Regions from separate parts of the Homo sapiens genome. Here region 2 is linked to region 1. Evidence: promoter capture Hi-C in 16 types of primary human blood cells and fetal thymus (Javierre and others, 2016). All regions are on one chromosome and are shown on one strand. The core of a region is centred on a gene start or on the middle of the fragment in contact, and the rest is flanking DNA. Distances in the headings are between cores, read along the strand shown.

Region 1 (2,595 bases), core at 41-2,540:
CTGAAAAAGCTAAAACTGCTGTTTGACCATGGTGGTAGAGGAGCTCAGAGCTGGTAGTTAATTTGCCCTGTGTTATTTCCACTGAACTTCATCACCTCCCTGCCCACCTGGTCGCTGCACACTCCACCTGGTGTTGAATGCATTGTTTTGCCTATTTCCCCCTCTGTCAGGACTTAGGACATAAGATACAGAATTACTATAAGAAACTCCTAGGTGGTTCCAGCACTAGGACTGAGAAATCTGCGCAGATAAGGCAGGCTTCAGCGCAGCTACAAGACGCCGACTTGAGGCCAGAACCACCAGCGACTGAGTGTCATGTGCCTTAGTCACCGCGGGCTCCGCAAAAGGCTAACAGTGCTGGACACCGGGAGGGCGCTCAAATCTTTGTTGAATAAATGTCCACACTACACAACCTGTTTTGAGTCAACTGCATCCCAACCCAGAAAATAATCGAGATATGTTTGAGCTGAATCAGTATCATTTTGCACATATAAAATCTCTCTTGCCTTGAGTCTGCAGGACTAGAACAGTTTAAAAAGTAAGCCTCGTTGGTTTTCTTTTTTTTTTCATTACTCCGACTTTTATAATTTGGGCTTCAGCATGAGTATCAAAACGGCAGCAGAGCAGAGTGAGACTTTTCAAAGTCTTGTCGCAAAGATACTTCGTGGTGAAGGGCTCCAGTCCCGCTTTTCCGCGCTGGGGTTCAATCCTAGGCAGCCGATTCGGGTTGGGGAGATGTCTCGGCCGCTCCCCCTAACCTCTTGCTAGGGAACAGTCCCTCCCCGCTCCCCATTCCACCTCCACCTGCTGGAGAAAAGATCACAGGTGGTAGGGTGAGGGTAGTCGGAGCAGCCCCGGTGGACGCTTACACGGGCCATCGCGCTCGGCCGCTCCCCGCCTTTGCAAACTGTGTGCTAGGGCTCCAGGCGGGCCCGGGCAGCAGCGGCGGCGCGCGCACGCGCACTCCGCGGCCCCGCGCGGCTCTTCAACATTCAATTCCACGTGTTGCTTGTTGTAGGCGCCACAGGTTCCCCACCTGCGTCCGGGCGCTCGGGCGGCTCCGCCTCTGCCGGCGGGCTCTGGGGAACCGCTGGGTCGGCGCGCCCGGGGCTGGCGGAGCAATTCCTGAGGCGCCCAAGCTCACCCCCAACGCTAACTCCGCCTATTCAGTCCCGGCGGCTCCCCCTCTCCCCCCTCCCAATCCTCCTCCCGGCTCCTGCCCGCCCCTTTCGCCCTGGTGGTAGGAAACACTCCTGAATCTAACTCGACGTGTCCGGAAAGCCCTGGCCAGTTTTCCTTTCGTTCTGCGGCCGCTGCAGCCAGCCCCGCGGCTCCCTCAGACCCGCGGGCGCAGCCGCCGGGGGTGAGGCGCTTGGGGACCGCGGGCCGAGCGGCGGGGATCCCCGAGCACCATGCTGGACCCGTCTTCCAGCGAAGAGGAGTCGGACGAGGGGCTGGAAGAGGAAAGCCGCGATGTGCTGGTGGCAGCCGGCAGCTCGCAGCGAGCTCCTCCAGCCCCGACTCGGGAAGGGCGGCGGGACGCGCCGGGGCGCGCGGGCGGCGGCGGCGCGGCCAGATCTGTGAGCCCGAGCCCCTCTGTGCTCAGCGAGGGGCGAGACGAGCCCCAGCGGCAGCTGGACGATGAGCAGGAGCGGAGGATCCGCCTGCAGCTCTACGTCTTCGTCGTGAGGTGCATCGCGTACCCCTTCAACGCCAAGCAGCCCACCGACATGGCCCGGAGGCAGCAGAAGGTGAGTTGCGGGACCGGGCGCCTCCTACCACCACTTCTCCCTGGGTTTTTCTCCCGGGAGAGCTCTGGGACGCCTCCCGTCCTTCTGCGAAACGCAGGACACCGTATTTTTGTTAGTCTCTGAGGGCAGAGGAATCTTTGGGGACAAGACGGTGCTTTCACCCGCCGGGTATGCGGCTGCAGCGGACACCTCTTCTCCTCCTCCCCGCCTGGGCTGGCAGGAGCTGTCAGCTCACCATCCGTGAGACAGAGACCGACAGCGCCGGCCGCGCCGCGGTTGCACCCGGCAGGCGCAGCTCTGGCCGGATTAGAATGCAACTCCCATCAACTTTAATTTCCAACAGCACTGGTGCATTCCTGTCCACCTAGCCTGGCGTGATATTGCTAGAGCTGGGTTTGCCGAGGGTCTGAATGAGTGTTGTAGCTAGGCGAAACAGGTGGAGCCCGAGTACTTCTCTTAGCTAGAGTGAAGTCTTCACTTAAGAGGGGTAGAAATTTTCCTCAGTGAATAAAAAAGTTAAATTAATACGTTTCCTATATTGTCATACAACCAGGACATCAAATCCAAACACCGAGAAGGCATGCAGCTTTGTAAAGTGTTTGTGGGTAAGTAATTTCTGGTCTGGGCAGGCCTGATTAATGAAATATACTATTACTGATGAAAGATAAAGGATTGGTGCATGATCACTTCATAACAAATGCTTTCCAAATGCTTTTTTGGGGAACAAAATGCTTATTCTCCCCCAAAAGGTAAGAAGTTTGTTTCAGGTGAAAGGCTGGCCAACTTGAGTTTCAAAACAAGACCCCAGGGGCCTGATGTTCTGTACCAGACACGAGTAATGACT
Region 2 (2,595 bases), core at 34-2,533, 270 kb before region 1:
TGAAATACAAAAATCTAGTTCTTCACATTTTATGTTATTGAAATATTATCTAGCAAATAGCATAAGCTCAGCCATATTAGTGATATCTGTACTTTAACTGTACAATAAGCCCCCCACACTACATAGCTTATTTGAATACTATATTTTATTTCTTGAAATACTCAACAGTGTTCTCCTATGCATCTTCTAGTGGTATTTTCTAAAAAAAAAAAAAAAAGAAATATGTTTGTCTCCAAATTGATTTTTCTGTATTTTGATTAAGAAATATTTCATGCATATATGCCTGTATAAAACGTGACTAAATATTTTGAAGAATAACAAAATAAGATAATGTATACCACATCCCAGCTTAATAACTAGAACATAATGATTTCTAAAATCTACACGAGCCTATCTCTTTTCCTTACAGAATCACCCCCAACCCCTTGCCAAGTTAGCTATAGTCCAAATTTTGTGTTAATCATTCTCTTGTTTTCTTTTGTTTTATCACTTGCACTAGTTAAGGTATGGATTGGTCGCCACAGCAAAGACCAAATATAGCAACAATTTCAACAAGATAGAAATAGGCTGGTATAGTGGCTCCTTCATCACCATGCCCCTGACTCTTTCTATCTCTTCTCTGCCATTTCCAGCACTGGAAACTTGCAGTTCAAGATGGCTCCCCATCTCCCTCTGTCCATTCTGTATCGCAGCTAGCTGCTCAAGGAAAGGAGAAAGTGGAAGGCATATGTACTTAGAAATTATTCTATTACTTTCCTGGATTTAAGAGTATTCAGATTTTCTATTTCAACATCAAACAATTGCATTTTTAAAAAGAAATTTATGTGTTCCATGTCAAATTTAGTAGTGTGTGGTTGTTTATAATATTTTCTTATATCTACTTAATTTCTATAGTATTTATAGTTATATGTCTTTATTTCTAACATTTTTCTTGTGCTTTTAAAGATTATTTAAAGATTATTTTTAAATAATCTTTATTTCATTTAAATAAAATATTTTATTTAAGTCTTTTTTAATGTAAATCTTTATTTATCTTATTTTATTTAAATCTGTATTTTAAAGATTATTTTTCAAATAATCTTTCCAAACTATGTCTATTTTATTAGTCTTACAAGTCTTGTCAAAGAACCAACTTCTGACTCCTTTCACCCTCTCTATTTAATGTATATTTCATATTATTTTTAATAGTTTTCTTTATTACTTTGTTCTGTCTACTTTGTTGGTGTATTTATGCTCTTGCTCTTTTACTAATTTTTAAAATCTGACCTTTACCTTATTAGTTTTGAGTTTTTCCTCTCTTCCAAAGTAAGGATTTAAGGATATGAATTTGCTTCTATTACTTTAGCTATTTTCCATATTTTTCAGTTTTGTGTTTTCTGATTTCCATTATACTAGATTTTTTTCACTCAAAAGATGCTTAGAAATGTGTTTTGAAATTTAAAATAAATTAGATTTTTAGCTACTTTTAAATTTTTTCTAACAATTTTTCTGCGGTCAGAAACTGTGGTCTATATAACAGTTCTCTAAAACTTGTTAAAGCAGCTTTTCGGACTAGCACATAGTCAGCTATAATAAATATTTTTCATTGTGCTTAAAACAAATTGTACATTTTTAACTAATTAGGTTCGATGTTTTCCAAAACTCTGTAAGATCAAGTTACTAGTTGTGCTTCTCAAATCTCTGTGCTCTGACCAAGTTTTGTCTCTTTTTATTCAGCAACTGATGAGACTGTTTTGTTAAACTCTCCTTCTATCATGCAGGTATTCTATTTCTTCTGATACTTCTGTCCATTTTGGTTCCTCTGCATTGTTAAATTATGTTATTCTGAACCCATTTAGAATGTTTCTGTGTGTGTGATTGATTAACCTTTTATCATTTTGCTGTGCACCTCTTCATCTATCTTAATTTTTTTGGTCTTTGAGTTTATTTGTCTGCTGATAATACAGGACGACCAGCTTTTTTTTTTTTTTTTTGAGACTGAGTCTCACTCTGCCACCTAGGCTAGAGTGCAGTGACACGATCTCAGCTCACTGCAACCTCCGCCTCCTGGGTTCAAGCGATTCTCCTGCCTCAGCCTCCTGAGTAGCTGGGATTACAGGTGCCCAGCTAATTTTTTGTATTTTTAGTAAAGAAGGGATGTCACTATGTTGGCCAGGCTAGTCTCGAACTCCTGACCTCATAATTCGCCCACCTCGGCCTCCCAAAGTGCTGGGATTACAGGCATGACACTACCAGCTTTTATAAGGCTAGTATTTACCTGGCATTTCCTCTATCCTTTCACTTTCAACACTTTATGACACTACCAGCTTTTATAAAGCTGGTATTTACCTGGCATTTCCTCTATCCTTTCACTTTCAATATTTCTGTGTCCTTATATTTTAGGTGTATCTCTTTTATTATGTTTGAAAAGTTTTACCTCTACCCGACATGTTTTATCCATTTAAATTATTTGTGACATTATATATTTAGAATAATTTCTACTGCCAGCTTTTTATTTTTTCCAAATATTCTTTCCATCTTTTCTTCCTGCGTTCCTATGCAGTTATTTTCTTTTATTTCACGCTACACACACACTTGTATGGGTGGTCTATTCTA

The links. The method cuts DNA at HindIII sites, captures the fragments that hold promoters and counts their contacts. A CHiCAGO score of 5 or more calls a contact.
Region 2: a contact is called between a fragment that was not itself captured here and the fragment with the promoter of CADPS2 in region 1, in 1 of 17 cell types (endothelial precursors). The highest score is 6.1, in endothelial precursors.

The regions. Positions count from the first base shown.
Region 1 is chr7:122,885,155-122,887,749 of GRCh38, reverse strand. CADPS2 (calcium dependent secretion activator 2) reads left to right here and starts at 1,290. Exons shown (of 30, transcript NM_017954.11): 1 at 1,290-1,751. The coding sequence starts at 1,413. RefSeq lists silencers at 883-1,042, 1,053-1,212, 1,283-1,362, 1,373-1,422, 1,463-1,592 and an enhancer at 1,953-2,002. The HindIII fragment of the contact is 15,066 bases long and covers 1-2,595 here.
Region 2 is chr7:123,159,649-123,162,243 of GRCh38, reverse strand. The region is part of intron 6 of SLC13A1 (solute carrier family 13 member 1); the gene reads left to right. Among named protein-coding and RNA genes, the nearest start is that of SLC13A1, 39 kb to the left of the region's middle. The HindIII fragment of the contact is 6,842 bases long and covers 1-2,595 here.